Regions from separate parts of the Homo sapiens genome. Here all the other regions are linked to region 1. The links are contacts of gene promoters, found by promoter capture Hi-C in blood cells and fetal thymus (Javierre and others, 2016). All regions are on one chromosome and are shown on one strand. Each heading gives the region's core, a stretch centred on a gene start or on the middle of the fragment in contact. The rest is flanking DNA. Distances are from core to core; before and after follow the strand shown.

The links. Contacts are between HindIII fragments. The CHiCAGO score rates a contact against its expected background, and 5 or more counts as called.
Region 2: a fragment that was not itself captured here is called in contact with the fragment with the promoter of IL1B in region 1 in 7 of 17 cell types (M2 macrophages, monocytes, megakaryocytes and 4 more); the score reaches 12.8 in M2 macrophages.
Region 3: a fragment that was not itself captured here is called in contact with the fragment with the promoter of IL1B in region 1 in 2 of 17 cell types (monocytes and M1 macrophages); the score reaches 6.9 in monocytes.
Region 4: a fragment that was not itself captured here is called in contact with the fragment with the promoter of IL1B in region 1 in 2 of 17 cell types (monocytes and M2 macrophages); the score reaches 5.5 in monocytes.
Region 5: a fragment that was not itself captured here is called in contact with the fragment with the promoter of IL1B in region 1 in 1 of 17 cell types (M2 macrophages); the score reaches 5.9 in M2 macrophages.
Region 6: a contact is called between a fragment that was not itself captured here and the fragment with the promoter of IL1B in region 1, in 1 of 17 cell types (monocytes). The highest score is 6.0, in monocytes.
Region 7: a contact is called between a fragment that was not itself captured here and the fragment with the promoter of IL1B in region 1, in 1 of 17 cell types (monocytes). The highest score is 6.3, in monocytes.

The regions. Positions count from the first base shown.
Region 1 is chr2:112,835,518-112,838,054 of GRCh38, reverse strand. It overlaps IL1B (interleukin 1 beta), which reads left to right and starts at 1,276. Exons shown (of 7, transcript NM_000576.3): 1 at 1,276-1,347; 2 at 1,811-1,872; 3 at 2,438-2,489. The coding sequence starts at 1,826. The HindIII fragment of the contact is 1,771 bases long and covers 1,149-2,537 here.
Region 2 is chr2:112,594,124-112,596,660 of GRCh38, reverse strand. No RefSeq gene overlaps it. Among named protein-coding and RNA genes, the nearest start is that of CHCHD5, 11 kb to the right of the region's middle. The HindIII fragment of the contact is 7,050 bases long and covers 1-2,537 here.
Region 3 is chr2:112,617,933-112,620,469 of GRCh38, reverse strand. No RefSeq gene overlaps it. Among named protein-coding and RNA genes, the nearest start is that of SLC20A1-DT, 25 kb to the left of the region's middle. The HindIII fragment of the contact is 9,749 bases long and covers 1-2,537 here.
Region 4 is chr2:112,636,823-112,639,359 of GRCh38, reverse strand. LOC107985934 (a long non-coding RNA gene) reads right to left here. Exons shown (of 2, transcript XR_001739642.2): 1 at 1,790-2,537; 2 at 1-400. Among named protein-coding and RNA genes, the nearest start is that of SLC20A1-DT, 6.1 kb to the left of the region's middle. The HindIII fragment of the contact is 4,837 bases long and covers 1-2,537 here.
Region 5 is chr2:113,019,328-113,021,864 of GRCh38, reverse strand. No RefSeq gene overlaps it. Among named protein-coding and RNA genes, the nearest start is that of IL36A, 15 kb to the right of the region's middle. The HindIII fragment of the contact is 5,467 bases long and covers 1-2,537 here.
Region 6 is chr2:112,663,858-112,666,394 of GRCh38, reverse strand. No RefSeq gene overlaps it. Among named protein-coding and RNA genes, the nearest start is that of SLC20A1, 19 kb to the right of the region's middle. The HindIII fragment of the contact is 1,027 bases long and covers 759-1,785 here.
Region 7 is chr2:112,684,527-112,687,063 of GRCh38, reverse strand. No RefSeq gene overlaps it. Among named protein-coding and RNA genes, the nearest start is that of NT5DC4, 35 kb to the left of the region's middle. The HindIII fragment of the contact is 6,630 bases long and covers 1-2,537 here.

The sequences.
Region 1 (2,537 bases), core at 27-2,526:
TGTTACAGGCTGGACACGGTGGCTCACGCCTGTAATCCCAACACTTTGGGAGGCCGAGGCGGGCAGATCACAAGGTCAGGAGATCGAGACCATCCTGGCTAACATGGTGAAACCCTGTCTCTACTAAAAATACAAAAAATTAGCCGGGCGTGGCGGCAGGTGCCTGTAGTCCCAGCTGCTGGGGAGGCTGAGGCAGGAGAATGGTGTGAACCCGGGAGGCGGAACTTGCAGGGGGCCGAGATCGTGCCACTGCACTCCAGCCTGGGCGACAGAGTGAGACTCTGTCTCAAAAAAAAAAAAAAAGTGTTATGATGCAGACCTGTCAAAGAGGCAAAGGAGGGTGTTCCTACACTCCAGGCACTGTTCATAACCTGGACTCTCATTCATTCTACAAATGGAGGGCTCCCCTGGGCAGTACCCTGGAGCAGGCACTTTGCTGGTGTCTCGGTTAAAGAGAAACTGATAACTCTTGGTTGGTATTACCAAGAGATAGAGTCTCAGATGGATATTCTTACAGAAACAATATTCCACTTTTCAGAGTTCACCAAAAAATCATTTTAGGCAGAGCTCATCTGGCATTGATCTGGTTCATCCATGAGATTGGCTAGGGTAACAGCACCTGGTCTTGCAGGGTTGTGTGAGCTTATCTCCAGGGTTGCCCCAACTCCGTCAGGAGCCTGAACCCTGCATACCGTATGTTCTCTGCCCCAGCCAAGAAAGGTCAATTTTCTCCTCAGAGGCTCCTGCAATTGACAGAGAGCTCCTGAGGCAGAGAACAGCACCCAAGGTAGAGACCCACACCCTCAATACAGACAGGGAGGGCTATTGGCCCTTCATTGTACCCATTTATCCATCTGTAAGTGGGAAGATTCCTAAACTTAAGTACAAAGAAGTGAATGAAGAAAAGTATGTGCATGTATAAATCTGTGTGTCTTCCACTTTGTCCCACATATACTAAATTTAAACATTCTTCTAACGTGGGAAAATCCAGTATTTTAATGTGGACATCAACTGCACAACGATTGTCAGGAAAACAATGCATATTTGCATGGTGATACATTTGCAAAATGTGTCATAGTTTGCTACTCCTTGCCCTTCCATGAACCAGAGAATTATCTCAGTTTATTAGTCCCCTCCCCTAAGAAGCTTCCACCAATACTCTTTTCCCCTTTCCTTTAACTTGATTGTGAAATCAGGTATTCAACAGAGAAATTTCTCAGCCTCCTACTTCTGCTTTTGAAAGCCATAAAAACAGCGAGGGAGAAACTGGCAGATACCAAACCTCTTCGAGGCACAAGGCACAACAGGCTGCTCTGGGATTCTCTTCAGCCAATCTTCATTGCTCAAGTATGACTTTAATCTTCCTTACAACTAGGTGCTAAGGGAGTCTCTCTGTCTCTCTGCCTCTTTGTGTGTATGCATATTCTCTCTCTCTCTCTCTTTCTTTCTCTGTCTCTCCCTCTCCTTCCCTCTCTGCCTCCCTCTCTCAGCTTTTTGCAAAAATGCCAGGTGTAATATAATGCTTATGACTCGGGAAATATTCTGGGAATGGATACTGCTTATCTAACAGCTGACACCCTAAAGGTTAGTGTCAAAGCCTCTGCTCCAGCTCTCCTAGCCAATACATTGCTAGTTGGGGTTTGGTTTAGCAAATGCTTTTCTCTAGACCCAAAGGACTTCTCTTTCACACATTCATTCATTTACTCAGAGATCATTTCTTTGCATGACTGCCATGCACTGGATGCTGAGAGAAATCACACATGAACGTAGCCGTCATGGGGAAGTCACTCATTTTCTCCTTTTTACACAGGTGTCTGAAGCAGCCATGGCAGAAGTACCTGAGCTCGCCAGTGAAATGATGGCTTATTACAGGTCAGTGGAGACGCTGAGACCAGTAACATGAGCAGGTCTCCTCTTTCAAGAGTAGAGTGTTATCTGTGCTTGGAGACCAGATTTTTCCCCTAAATTGCCTCTTTCAGTGGCAAACAGGGTGCCAAGTAAATCTGATTTAAAGACTACTTTCCCATTACAAGTCCCTCCAGCCTTGGGACCTGGAGGCTATCCAGATGTGTTGTTGCAAGGGCTTCCTGCAGAGGCAAATGGGGAGAAAAGACTCCAAGCCCACAATACAAGGAATCCCTTTGCAAAGTGTGGCTTGGAGGGAGAGGGAGAGCTCAGATTTTAGCTGACTCTGCTGGGCTAGAGGTTAGGCCTCAAGATCCAACAGGGAGCACCCAGGGTGCCCACCTGCCAGGCCTAGAATCTGCCTTCTGGACTGTTCTGCGCATATCACTGTGAAACTTGCCAGGTGTTTCAGGCAGCTTTGAGAGGCAGGCTGTTTGCAGTTTCTTATGAACAGTCAAGTCTTGTACACAGGGAAGGAAAAATAAACCTGTTTAGAAGACATAATTGAGACATGTCCCTGTTTTTATTACAGTGGCAATGAGGATGACTTGTTCTTTGAAGCTGATGGCCCTAAACAGATGAAGGTAAGACTATGGGTTTAACTCCCAACCCAAGGAAGGGCTCTAACACAG
Region 2 (2,537 bases), core at 21-2,520, 240 kb after region 1:
AATATAGACAAGTAGAATGAAAACATGGTCTGGCTGACACTTCCACTTCTGGCATCTCTCCAAACTGAGGTGGCCTTGATACCTAAGAAAGCCCCATGCTGATGGCAGCCCAAGGGGAGCAAGGTCAGGGAAGGCCTCTCCCTGTTAGGAAGGACATTCACATAATTTTCTTCCTGTGCACAGTGTGAGTCTCAAAAAAAAAAAAAAGACTCTCACTCTGTCGCCCACGCTGGAGTGCAGTGGCGTCGTGATCCCGGCTCACTGCAACCTCTGCCTCCTGGGCTCAAGCAATCCTGCTACCTCAGCCTCCCGCATAGCCGGGATTACAGGCACCTGCCACCATGCCCAGCTAATTTTTGTTTTTTTAGTACAGACGGGGTTTCACCATGTTGGCCAAGCTGGTCTTGAACTCCTGACCTTAAACAATCAGCCTACCTTGGCCTCCCAAAGTGCTGGGATTGCAGACGTAAGCCACCATGCCCAGCCTGAATTGATAAATTCTTGAGAGATGGGAAACGGCATTCTTTAATGAGAATTTTGGATATAGGGGACACTAATAGAAACTAACAAAGTGCTTTCATAAAATTCCCAGATGCTCAAAGAAAATTTAAAAGTCGAGTTAAGATCCATAAAATATGCATGCCCAGGCTGGGCGCGGTGGCTCACGCCTGTAATCCCAACATTTTGGGAGGCTGAGGCAGGTGGATCACGAGGTCAGGAGATTGAGACCATCCTGGCCAACATGGTGAAACCCCATCTGTACTAAAAATACAAAAATTAGCTGGGCGTGGTGGCGCGTGCCTGTGGTCCTAGCTACTCAGGAGGCTGAGGCAGGAGAATCGCTTGAACTCGGGAGGTGGAGGTTGCAGTGAGCTGAGATTGCGCCACTGCACTCCAGCCTGGGCAACAGAATGAGACTCCACCTCAAAAAAAAAAAAAAGTGCACGCCCACAACTGAGTAAAAGACAGGACTGTGATCAGGAAGTGCAGAAAATGTTAAATTTTAATGTCAGGGGTTAATTTAGAAAACATTGGCAAGTGTTTTCTCCTTTTATCATACCTTCCCCCTTTCTCATCTTTGCTGCAGATAAGGTCAAGTTCAGGGACTGCAGGACTTAAGGGGTAGGAGGTAATTCCTTCAAAACAAAAATGAAGGCAGGGTGTGGTGGCTCACGCCTGGAATCCCAGCACTTTGGGAGGCAGACGAGGGCAGATCACTTGAGGTTAGGAGTTCTAGACCAGCCTGGCCAACATATTGAAACCCCATCTCTACTAAAAATACAAAAAAATTAGCTGGGTGTGGCGGTGCATGTCTATAATCCCAGCTACTCAGGAGGTTGAGGCAGGAGTAATGCTTGAACCCGGGAGACGGTCCTCGCAGTGAGCCAAGACCATGCCATTGCACTCCAGCCTGGGCCATAGAGTGATTCTGTCTCAGAAAAAAAAAAAAAAAAAGATGAAAAGAAAACCCTTCTTTTCTCCTGCTTTGCATCTGCAATGGTGCAGGAATCCACAGATGTAACTAGACGTAACTGATGAATTGCAAGAAGTTAGAAGCCTGAAGAATGCAGCCGACATGAAAGGCTTTTATTCATACAGGTGATGTGATCTAAATGACTGACTGCATATTTAGAAAATAGGAAGAGTGTGAGGGACGGCAGCAAGGGTGAAGAATCGCCCCTCACCAGACAAGACTACAACAAAATTAACTGAGTCCTCATTTCAGCTTTAAAATAAACAAAAGGGGCTGGGCATGGTGGTTCACTCCTGTAATCCCAGCACTTTGGGAGGCCAAGGCAGGCAGATTTCTTGAGCTCAGGAGTTAGAGAACAGCCTGGACAATATGGTGAAACCCCATCTCTACTAAAAAGACAAAAATTAGCTGGGCATGCGTGCCTGTAGTCTCATCTACTCAGGAGGCTGAGGTGGGAGGATCATCTGAGCCCAGGAGGTGGAGGTGGCAGTGAGCCGAGATCACATCACTGCACTCCAGCCTGGTCAACAGAGTGAGACCCCATCTCATAAATAAATAAACAAACAAATAAATAAAATGAACAAAAGGGGAACTGTATACCCAAACTATAAAACAAAAATTAAAAAAAAATGAAAAGGGGAATTGTAAATCCAGGCTTAAGATGGAGTGAGGCCTTCTAAGAAAAAGAACAGCAACAACAATAACAATACCAAACCTTCTGCAGGGGCAGAGTGCAAAGAAATGGTGGTGAGAATGACAAGCTGGGGAAAATAATGCCTGCTGCAATTCCGGACACATTGGGACTTAGTGCTCCCTTTGAGACATCTATATGAAGGTCCATGGCAGCAGGTGGAAGCCCAAGGCAGAAGCCAGGGCTGGAGATAACCATCTGTGAACCAATGACTTATCTGATATTCTCTAGGAAGGAGATCACTGCACAGAGGAGAGAATAAGAAGAGGCCTGGTGTAAGCCTTGAAGAAAATCATTATGTCACGGCTGGGTGGGAGAAGGTGGTGGCATAGCCAGAGAGCTAGGAGGAAACCTGCAGAGTCCATGTAAAGA
Region 3 (2,537 bases), core at 15-2,514, 220 kb after region 1:
ATCCCTTGATCCCAGAGGAACATTTTGTGCCAGCACCTCCAGCTTCATGGAGGCATTGATACACCAAGTCCCTGAGGATGCCTGAAGCTGGTTCACAGATGGAGCCCGCTAAGTTACAGGCTGGCGGATTGTTCTTGGCCCTTGCAGCTGTGCAGCCACAGGGGAAAACAAAAGCTGTTTAAAATTTTGCACACAAAAAAAAGGTACTACCCAGTGGACAGAGTTGGGGACAGTGGTGGTTTTCCTGAAAAACCCCTCCAAAATGCTCCTTGCTGCTTTTTCATTGATTTAGAGACGGTAGCCAATGGGCTGGCAGTGCGGGCCTGTGCCTGGAAGCAAGACTAAATGATCAAGTCTCAATCCCTATGGCAGTGAACATTATGGTATCAGACTTTTTTTTTTTTTTCTGAGATGGAGTCTCCCTCTGTTGCCCAGGCTGGAGTGCAGTGGTACGATCTCAGCTCACTGCAGCCTCCATTTCCCAGGTTCAAGTGATTCTGTTGCCTCAGCCTCCCAAGTAACTGGGATTATAGGCTTGCACCACCGTGCCTGGCTAATTTTTTTTTTTTTTTGTATTTTTAGTAGAGACGGGGTTTTGCCATGTTGACCAGGCTGGTCTTGAACTCCTGACCTCAGGTGATCCACCATGCCTGGCTATTTTTTTTTTTTTTTATTAGAGATGAGATTTTTGCCATGTTGACCAGGCTGGTTTCGAACTCCTGACCTCAAGTGATCCACCGCCTCAGCCTCCCATGCTGGGATTACAGGCATGAGCCACCGCACCCAGCCTCAGATTTTATTAATACTACACCACTGCCCTCTGTTTTATGGATGTGGATGTCCATAGAAATAGCATGAGTGGAATTCAAAACCCAATCAGACTTGTGCCTTCCAGGTAAGGACAACTGAATACATCATCACAGAGGCCACGACATTCTGTCTACAGTGCAGGACTGGGACCCAAAGCAAAGATGAATGACTCCAGCACAGGAAGCCACCGAAGTCTGGTAAATGAGCCTGTCAGTCAAGGGGCAAAGAAAACTCCAGGGCACATATAAACTCAGGACACCAGATTCTGGCCAGTCCTGGCAAATAGGCTACATAACCTCCTAAATGCTCCACTTGGGGATGCAATTAAGCATTTCCTACAGTAGGCACCTTTCTGGGTATGGCATGGCAATGTAGGTCCTTACCACAGATAGGAGGTAGATGTAACATAAATTTAGGGACTCGCAGATGACCTGTGTTACATACTGAGATTCCCTGAATGTATCTCATCAAATGATGCGCATTTATAGTCAAGAGTACCCAACACTGGCCAACCACCTTGGACATTGCCAGGACATCTCAGGACCCTCATCACCCACAGGCAATAGATGCCATAAAAGGATGGAATGAGGCTGGGCGCCATGGCCCACACCTGTATCCCCAATACTTTGGGAGGCTGAGGCAGGTGGATCGCTTGAGACCAGCCTGGGCAACATGGTGAAACTCTGTCTCTACATAAAATACAAAAAATTATCCGGGTGTGGTGGTACACCCCTGTGGTCTCAGCTACTGGGAAGGCTGAGGTGAGAGGATCACCTGGGCCCAGGAGGTTGAGGCTGCAGGGTAAGCCGTGATTGAACCACTGCATTCCAGCCTGGGCGACAGAATGGGACCCGGTGTCAAAAAAAAAAAAAAAAAAAAAAAAGAGAGAGAGAGAGATGGATGCTTAAAGGAGAAGCTAAAAAGGGTACATAGAGAACCAAAGCTCAATTCTCAGTAGAGTACACACTTAAAACAGACAATATGGATTCTAAATGTGCCAATACCCCAAAAGGGAACTTCCTTTTTAAATAGAATCTGTGTGAGTTTGAGGAGTCGGGGAGGAGGCCCAGACTGTCTGTAAGAGACCCAAACCAACACAATATACTCTCCTTCTTCATTCCTCCTTTCCCTCCCACGCTCACCCCTGGGGAAACCAAACTATGCTGCTTTTTTCTTTTTTTTTTTTTTTTGAGACGGAATCTCACTCTGTCGCCAGGCTGGAGTGCAGTGGCGCAATCTCAGCTCACTGCAACCTCCGCCTCCTGGGTTCAAGCAATTCTCCTGCCTCAGCCTCCTGAGTAGCTGAGACTACAGGCGCCCACCACCACGCCCGGCTAATTTTTGTATTTTTAGTAGAGACGGGGTTTCACCATATCGGCCGGGCTGGTCACAAACTCCTGACCTCAGGTGATCCACCCACCTTGGCCTCCCAAAGTGCTGGTATTACAGGTGTGAGCCACAGCGCCCAGCATTTTTTTTTTTTTTTTTTTGACACGGGGTCTTGCTCTGTCGCCCAGGCTGGAGTGCAGTGGCACAATCTTGGCTCACTGCAACCTCCGCCTTCCTGGTTCTAGAGATTCTCCTGCCTCAGCCTCCGAGTAGCTGGGACTGTAGCTGGGACTATAGGCGTTTGCCACCATACCCGGCTAAATTTTAGGTATTTTTGGTAGAGACGGGGTTTCTCCATGTTAGCCAGGATGGTCTTGATCTCCTGACCTCGTGATCCA
Region 4 (2,537 bases), core at 19-2,518, 200 kb after region 1:
CCAGGTTCAGGTGATCCTCCTTCCTCTGCCTCCCCAGTACCTGGTACTACAGTTGCATCCCACCACGAATGGCTAATTTTTGTATTTTTTGTAGAGACTGGGTTTCACCATGTTGCCCAGGCTGGTCTCGAACTCCAGGGCTCAAGCAATCCACCCACCTAGGCCTCCCAAAGTGCTGAGATTACAGCCATAACCCACTGCACCCGGCCTAATTTTGTATACACCACCTTTACCATCTTTTAGGATGAAGTGCTTCTGTGGCTGGTCTCATCCATTTAGCATAGATTCTTGCCAGTTTTATTTTCCAAAAGTGATTTTCTTCCTGGGGGCAACTTACTGTTGCCCCAAAATATATCCATTTTAGGACTGTTCATTTATTCAACCATTCAGCACCTACCACCTGCAGGGAATATGAAATTTTTAACTGTGACCTTGAATACTGCCTCTACCTTTTATTTTGTTTTTTCACTCCTCCCTCTCCACCCATTTACCTCTCCCTTTTTAATGATGGTTATAAAATCAAATGTTAACGCTGATTTATAAAAACCATATATGTGTATATATATATATATATACACACACACACACACACACACACACACATATATATAGATATATATAGGACTCACTCTCCTGTTTCCAGATACCTTCAAAGGCATTGTTTCATTTTATCTTCACATCTGTGTGATGTAGGCAGAGCAAGTATTTTTTTTACCCTATCACAGGGAAATGAGGGTCTGAGAGCCTGCAGTCGGGCAAGTAGCAAGTTTTAGAGTAGGGCCTGGAGTCCTGCACGGTGGGCCCTGGCAGGCAATGCGTGAGAGACTCCAAGTCTACTATACTTCCCACCACCCTGTGTTAACTCCCCATTTAAGCCAGAGGAGTGACTTACAGGTATGGGGATAGGGATGGGACATTCAGGCCAGAGAAGGGAGAGAAAGGGACAAGGGAGAGAGTACTTCATGCAGTGACTTCAATTGCAAATACCCTATTCCATTGTCCCCACTAGAATTCATATTTATCAGACTTGTATTCTGATTATTTCATAATATATGGGCACCGAAACAACCAGACTAATAGGGGAAATAGTTTAGGGCAAGAGGAGCTCAAGATTTTTAAAAATTATTATAAAAATAATACATGCTCGCTGGGTGCAGTGGCTCATGCCTGTAATCCCAGCACTTTGGGAGGCCGAGGCGAGTGGATCACCTGAGGTCAGTAGTTCAAGACCAGTCTGGCCAACATGGAGAAACCCCGTCTCTACTAAAAATACGAAAAATTAGCCAGACATAGTGGAGCATGCCTGTAATCTCAGCTACTCAGGGAGTCTGAGGCAGGAGAATTGCTTGAACTCGGGAGGCAGAGGTTGCATTGAGCCAAGACCACACCATTGCACTCTAGCCTGGGTAACGAGAGCGAAACTCGGTATCAAAAAAAAAAAAAAATTAGCCGAGCATGCCTGTAATCCCAACTACCCAGGAAGCTGAGGCATGAAAATCTCTTGAACCTGGGAAATGGAAGTTGCAGTGAGCTGAGATCACATCATTGCACTCCAGCCTGGGAGACAAAATGAGACTCCTCTGTCTAAAAAAAAAAAAAAAAAAAAAAAAGCTCATGTAAAAACTATACCATAGAGAAGAATATCAAGTGAAAAATGCTCCTCCTTAGAATCTCAACTTTCTAGTCTAACCCCCCGACATAACTACTTTTAATCATTACTTGTAATACACACACACACACACACACACACACACACATAGGTATTTTCACTATAATATATAGTGTATACCTTTTTTCTTTTAATCAGATGAAATCATACCATGGGGTTTCGCAACTTGTTCTTGATACCTTTGCACGTCACTGCATATAGATCTTCTTGCACGCCTTCTTTTATTATCTGCAGTGGAATAGACCATTATAAAGCACGTCCTTATGCAAGTGGACTCTCTGGGTCATGGGCTATGCAAATATTTTCATTTTATATGATATTGCCAAATGTCCACCCAGCACATAAGAGAAAATGCCAATTTCAAGGCTGGGGATGTTTTTTGATCCCCTTCTGATTACATATGGCTGGTGGTGTCATGGCCCATCCATATCTCCTTTGCCAACATTAATCCCGGCTTTGGCATCTCTTTAACTCTCAGTAGAATGAAATCTTTGGACGCTGATCCTCAGCAGTGAGGCATTTTCTTTGCCTTCTCTTTCCAACTCTGTAGTGGTCATTGATTAACAAGCCTGTCTCTCCCTTTCACTGGCCCTTTCCATTTAGACCCTGGCCTCTTTCCTCACTCCATCCTCCTCCCAACCTGCACTTTCTGGAACAGCCCCACAGGGCCCAGCTGGTGGGTGCCTCCTTCCCCAGGGGTGTGGGGTGTATGGTTGGTTTTGTGGCAAGGTCATCCTCATGGTCACCACCTTGCTTGTTGATGTTCCCTGCCATTGGCATGGTGGTTGTTATGGGATCAGCATGGGTAACCAAACCCTGAAGAGACACAGCTTTGCTGCTAGGAATTTTAAATCTGTAGTTCCTTACT
Region 5 (2,537 bases), core at 27-2,526, 180 kb before region 1:
AATAGTCTAGGCCTCCTACTGTAGGCACCGAGTAGCCACCCTGGGTATCCACTCTTTCATCCACTGATTTGCTCAGAACAACACCTAGCTATTGTATCAGAAAATTTTCAAGCATACAGAACATAACGGGGACCACAGCATTTGAGAAACACAGCCTCTGCTAAAGCTACTTTCTTCACATGCTGTTTACACTTTTCACTTTTAAAAACGTTAATTTTTCAGTTATTAATACATCGACACATTCATCTTGAAATAAAGTTAAAATATACCAGATAAATCCAAATTCTTTCCCCCCAGATCCTAGTTCCTCTTTCTCCACCCCAATGGTAACCACTGTTATGAATTGGTGTCACTCTGGCTATTTCTTATGCATTTACGTACTCATAGGCTCTATTGGAAGCATACAATGTTGTCTTATGTGTACCCCTGTGCATCTGTATGTATGTGTCCATGTGAGTGCATGTTTCTCTAACTGGAATAATAAAATACATATTTTTCTCCAACTCACTTTTCTTTTTTTTTCGAGACAGAGTCTCACTCTGTCACCCAGGCTGGAGCGCAGTGGTGCAATCTCAGCTTACTTCAACCTCCGCCTCCCAGGTTCAAGCGATTCTCCTGCCTCAGCCTCCCAAGTAGCTGGGATTACAGGCGTAGGGCGCCACCATGCCCAGCTAATTTTTATATTTCTACTAGAGACAGGGTTTCACCATGTTGGCCGGGCTGGTCTTGAACTCCTGACCTCAAGTGATCCACCTGCCTCAGCTTCCCAAAGTGCTGGGATTACAGGTGTGAGCTACTATGCCCAGCCCAACTCATTTTTTCACTGAAAAATGTGTTCAAATATCTGTCTACACTGGCATGGATGGCTGTCTCATTCCTTTACAACTGCTGCAGAGCACCCAACAGAATGGTTTTACCATCCTTTGTTTAGCCATTCCTTCATGGATGGAGAGTTAGGCTGTTTCCACATTTTGCTACTTTTTTTTTTTTTTTTTACAAACAATGTGGCAATGAACATTCTAGTGTATGCCTTCTGTGCAGACATGCAAGACTTTCTTTGGAATAGATAAGTGATCTTAGACAAGATAGCTGAAAAAAATAGATAAATGAATTGCTTGACCATGGAGTAAGTCCATTCTTTATTTCAATAGATAATATCTGCCCTTGGATGTGGCTTTTCTAATTTACACTTCCAATGGTGTTTTCATTCTTCCCTGCCCTACATTTTTACTTTTTAAAAATTTAAAAAGTATTGTTGTCCTAGCATATAAAGCAGGGGTTTCCAACCCCTAGGCCATGGTCCGAAATTTTTTTAAAATTTACACTTCCAATGGTGTTTTCATTCTTCCCTGCCCTACATTTTTACTTTTTAAAAATTTAAAAAGTTTTATTATTCTAGCACATAAAGCAGGGGTTTCCAACCCCTAGGCCATGGTCCATGGACCGTTACCAGTCCTTACCTGTTAGGAACCGGGCTGCACAGCAGAAGGTGAGTGGCAGGCGAGCGAGCAGTACTGCCTGAGTTCTGCCTCCTTTCGGATCAGTGGGAGGTATTAGATGCTCATAGGTGCGTGAACCCTATTGTGAAGTGCGTGTGCAAGGGATTTATGTGTGCGCTCCTTATGAGAATCTAATGCATGATGATCTTCTAAGAACACCCACATCCCCAGTCCATGGAAAAAATGTCCTCCATGAAACCAGTCCCTGGCGCCACAAAACTTAGGGACCACTGATATAATCTCTCACTGTTATTTTCATTTGCACATGCCTGATTACTGATTAGTCCTTCAGTACTCTGCACTCTCCAGTCTGACCTCTGACATCTGACTTCTCCACCAAAACCTTTCTTCTGAGCACCATCAATGACACCCCTGCCTGTTTCCTGATGCCAATGGGCACTCTGCTGTCCTAATCTCAATCAGCGCTAGGCACACTCCACTGCTCCCACACATCTTTACATGCACATACTAGGGATTCTGCAACAAGTCTCTCTGGGCTTTCCTCAGACTCACTGAAATTTTCTTTTTACTTTCATTTACTGGCTCCCCCTCATGTGACTTCTTGTAGTTGAAATTCCTCAGAACTCATCCTTGAATCCTCTTCTCCTTTATACTATTTCACTGGGTGACACTATTTGTTTCATGAACGGGTGTATGTGGACGTATTAGTTGGTTCTCATGCTGCTAATAAAGACATACCCAAGGCTGGGTAATTTATAAAGGAAAGAGGTTTAATGGACTCACAGTTCAGCATGGCTGGGGAGGCCTCACAATCATGGCAGAAGGCAAAGGAAGAGCAAAGGCACACCTTACATGGCAACAGGCAAGAGAGCTTGTGCAGGGGAACTCCCATTTATAAAACCATCGGCTCTCGTGAGACTTATTCATACTGTAAGAACACATGGGGGAAATTGTCCCCATGATTCAATTATCTCCACCAGGTCCTGCCCTTGACATTTGGGTATTATTACAATTCAAGGTGAGATTTGGATGGAAACACAGCCAAGCCGTATCAGTTGACAATTTTATCCCTGGCCC
Region 6 (2,537 bases), core at 23-2,522, 170 kb after region 1:
TCCCAGAAGTGTCACCCGCACTCAGCCAAAAAATGCGAGAGGGAAATAGTAACACAAGTATATTATTTAGATATAAAGAGACAAATACCAAAAGAATTGAAAGTGGTTGCCTCAGGAAAGGGAAATGTTGGCAGACCTGTTTTTGTTAACAAGCCTTGTTGGACCAGCTGGCTCTTCAATTTGCCCAACCTTGATTTTCAAAAAACTTTTAGTTAAGAAAAGGCAATGTCAGCTGAGCCGTGGTGGCTCACGCCTGTAATCCCAGCACTTTGGGAGGCTGAGGTGGGTGGATCACCTAAGGTCAGGAGTTTGAGACCAGCCCGGCCAACGTGGTGAAACTCTGTCTCTACTAAAAATACAAAAATTAGTCGGGCGTGGTGGCGCAAGCCTGTAATCCCAGCTACTCAGGAGGTTGAGGCAGGAAAATCGCTTGAACCCTGGGAGGCAGAGATTGCAGTGAGCCGACATCGCGCCATTGCACTCCAACTGGGTGACAAGAGCGAAACTCTGTCTCAAAAAAAGAAAAGGCAATATCTATGCCGAAAAAAAAGGGGGGGGCCAGGGTTCTCACCATGTGTCCCTGCCCCATGGCAGACAACTAAAGTAGAAATATAACCGCTCCTCTGGTCCCTTCCCTAGCTCTAGAGGCTCCTCTCCCCAGGTCTACCTGCTCTGCCTACAGAAACACATCCTTGGTGTGTTCAATCTTTTCACTTCCCTGGGCCACACTGGAAAAATTGTCTGTAGCTGGACAAGCTTGGTCTAAGTATTTTCTCAGCTGTTCTGTCCTGAGCCAAGTGAAAGTGCCAGGGAGGTTCCTCTTCTCCATGTAATCACTGGGCTCTGAAAGGATCTGGGCTTTTGTGAGGTCATTCAGCACGAAGGGAAGGCAGTGCCAGAACTCTGAGGGTCTCCTCCCAGACCCTCAGTTCAAGGCCTAATGCTCGGTCGCCCTTTACAACAGCCCCCTACCCTCCCTTCCCTCAAGTAACAAGTCATAAAGCTAGTTTCACCCAGCCCCAAAGGCTACAAGTAACGGGCACCCTCTGCTAACTGACAATACTGGGCAAATACAGATGTTCTCCACGCCAGTTTCATCATGTACAAAATCAGGATAAGATCTACCACAAAAGGCCATGAGGATTAAATGTAGTCTTCTGCAAGACCATTAAACTGACAGCAGGATGCAACGGCATGTACCCAGCCAGTGGCCTAACCTTGCAGGCACAGGTTAGACTAGGCACTGCCTTACCCTGTTCGATTCTTAGTGTTGGTTTCTAGTGAAACGCTCCAAATAAACTCAAAATTCAAAAGTATTGTTCCAAACCCTCAGGACAGGAACTATCAATCTAGTTTGCCAAGAAATGTACTTTTCATTAACTTCTGATCAGGGGCAAAAATATAATGGGTCAGAACTGAAGAATCCCATACTGAGAACTTTTAAACAAAACTTAGCTACACATTGCCTCCCACTCATTTTTGCTTTCCTTGTACTGATGTCCTTTGAACACTAGTCTGAACTGCAGAATCCACTTATACACAGACTTACTTTCACCTCTGCCATCCCTGAGACAGCAAGACCAACTCCTCCTTTCCTCCTCAGTCAACTCAAGATGACAAGGATGAAAACCTTTATGATCCATTTCCACTTAATGAATAGTAAATGTATCTTCCTTATGGTTTTATTTCCTTTTCTCTAGCTTACATTATCGTAGTACAGTATATAATACATACATATAACACGTAAAATATGTGTTCACAACTGTTTATGTTATTGCTAAAGCTTCTGGTCAACCGTAGGCTACTGGTAGTCAAGTTTTTGGAGTCAAAAGTTATACATGGTTTTTTGACTGCATGGGGGTTGGTGTCCAACCTCCACACTGTTCAAGGGTTTACCGTAATACCAAAGCTAAAAACAATCTACATAAAATAGTAAAATAAAGCTGTCCATTCAACAGTAAATCTTTGGCTGTGAAAAACCATGAGTAGGCCAGACGCAGTGGCTCATGGCTATAATCCCAGCACTTTGGGAGGCCAACACAGGCGGATCACTTGAGGTCAGGAGTTTGAGACCAGCCTGGCCAACATGCTGAAAGCTTGTCTCTACTAAAAATTAGCCAGATGTGGTGGTGGGCGCCTGTAGTCCCAGCTACTCAGGAGGCTGAGGCAGGAGAATTGCTTGAACCCAGGAGGTGGAGGTTGCAGTGAGCCGAGATCACACCACTGCACTCCAGCCTGGTGACACAGCGAGACTCCGTCTCAAAAAAAAAAACAAAAAGTATCAAAAGAAAAAACTGGAAAAACAAAACAAAAAAAACACCCGTGTGCTAACATGAAAGTGTACAGGCTGTGCTACTAAAAGGGAAAATGCCAAGTTGCCACCACAGTCCCTATGGAGTAATGTCTTGCATATTCTGGGCACACAAGAAGCATACAGGGAGGGGTTGGGAGCTTTAAGTTGGACAGTAGCTCTCACTTGTTAAGATATTCACATCACCTAAGAATGATATTAGGCTAACTGATCAGGAGCCCAGGTG
Region 7 (2,537 bases), core at 23-2,522, 150 kb after region 1:
AAAGGTGGGAGGACTGCTTGAGCTCAGGAGTTTGAGACCAGCCTGGGCAACATAGTAAGACCCCATCTCTAAAAAACAATAAATAAATAAAAATTAGTAGGGCATGCTGGTGTGCGCCTGTAGTCCCAACTACTTGGAAGCTGAGGTAGGTGGACTTGAGCCCAGCCTTGGCAACAGAGCGAGACCCTGTCTTACAAAACAAAAAGAAAAAGTGCTGGCAGATGGCTCCTCAGGAAGGTCTCAGGAGATCTGCTGCCTGAGCAGCTTGTTGGGGAGCCCTGCCTACACGAAGCTCATAGCCAAAGTCATTCTGACGCTGAGAGATAACTTGGCCTTGTCTCCTCCCGCCTTCACGGCCCCCTCCCTGCTTGGTAAGCCCCGCTCCACTGCAGTCACGGTAGTCCTTACGCTGGAGCTGAAGTTGGTTCTGCCTCTCCAATTGCCTGTGAGCTGCAAGGAGGCCAGGACTGTGCTTCAGGCTGTGGAAGGAAGTCAGAGAATGGGAGGAGCCGCCTGTGGGGAGCAGGAAGGCTTGGGCCCTGGGTTCCTGCTCAGCCAAGGAACACCTGTAGGTTTCTGAACCTCTTTTTCCATCTGTAAAAGGGGGAAATAAGCCCTGCCTACCTCATCAGGCTTACAGCTGCACTGTCCATTATGGTAAGCACTAACCACTGTGGCTAATGAGCCCGGGAAGTGTGGCTAGTCCCAATTCACATGTGCTCTAAGTGGAAAATATGCACCAGATTTCAAGGCCGGTACCAAAAACTGTTATCAAGTCCCTCAGTAATTTTTATGTTGCTTATGTGTTGAAATAACATTTTTGATATATTAGGTTAAAGCACATATTATTAAAATTAATTCTCGCCAGACACAGTGGCTCACGCCTGTAATCCTAACACTTTGGGAGGCCAAGGCAGATGGATCACCTGAGGTCAGGAGTTCAAGACCAGCCTGACCAACATGGTGAAACCCCATCTCTACTAAAAATGCAAAATTAACTGGGCATGGTGGTGCATGCCTGTAATCCCAGCTACTCGGGAGGCTGAGGCAGGAGAATCGCTTGAACCCAGGAGGCGGAGGTTGCGGTGAGCCAAGATGGCACCATTACACTCCAGGCTGGGCAACAAGAGCGAAACTCGGTCTCAAATAATAATAATAATTAATTTCATCTGTTTTGTTTGTTTGTTTGTTTGTTTTTGAGACAGGGTCTCACTCTGTCGCACAGGCTGGAGCGCAATGACATGATCATAGCTCACTGCAAACTCCAACTCCTGGACTCAAGCAATCCTCCCATCTCAGCCTCCTGAGTAGCTAGGACTAAAGGCATGTCACTGTACCCAGCTAATTTTTCTGTGGAGATGGGGTCTCTCTATGTTGCCCAGTCTGGCTCAAACTCCTGGGCTCAAGCAATCCTCCCACCTCAGCCTCCAAAAGTGCTAGGATTACAGGCATGAGCCACCTTACCCAGCTTGCCTGTTTCTTTTTAAAATGTGGCTTCTAGAGAAATTACAGTTACATATGGGCTCATATTATGTTCCTACTGGACAGTACTGGTACAGCAATGAGCTACTTGGATGGATGGAGTTATTAGAACTCTATTTCTTCTGTTCTCTTCTCCTTGAATCTTGCAGAATGTGGCACAGGCAGAAGGAGGCTTGAAAAATCCCTGTCCAAAATAAAAGTCTTAGGTTTTTCATCTGAAAGAGTCAGATACTCCAGCTACCTCCACTTCCCACCCCTCAATGCAGATAAACAAACAGGCGTGAGCCACCGGGCTATTTATGATTTTGACAACTGCTCTCCAAAATGTTGTAACTTTCCACCCCTCCAGCAATACATGAGAGTACCCATTTCTTCAACCCTTCCTAATACAATTGGGGTTCTATCATTTTCTTCATCTTTGCCAGTTTAATAGGTAAAACTTCCCCTTCTGTGCTTACTGCAGAAAACTGAAACTTGTTCCTGGGTTACTGACCATATGTCTTAGTTTTTAATAACTTTCCTCATCCTACCTTTTCTTTGCCCATTTTTTCTTCTGAAGTCTATTGTCTTCTCATTTCTATGAGCTCTTTGCATATTAAGGACATTAATTCCTTGTCTCACATGCTGCAGCTCTTATTAGTCTTTTATATTGTCTGCGTAGTGTTTTTTTATGATTATTGAGTTAAACCTCTGAGTACTTCCTTTACGTTTGTGCTTTGTGTGGTTAGAAAAATCTTTACACCATAAGGATGAACTTATCTGTGTTTTCTTCTAAATTTATTATGGATCTTATTAATGATTCCACTTATTAAAATTTAGGTTTTACCTGACTTGAAATTATTTAAGTTGTGGTATGATTCAGAATCTAACTTCGTTTTCCTCTCCCAAATGGCTAGCCAGTTGTTCCCACTATCTCATGTATCCCAAGACTTCACCACAGTGACACTGTGGGACGTTTTGGGCTGGGTAATTCTTTGCTGTGGGAGGCTATTCTTGCACTGTAGGATGTTTAGCAGCGCCTCTGACCTCTATCAGATTCCAGTTGCATCCCCTCA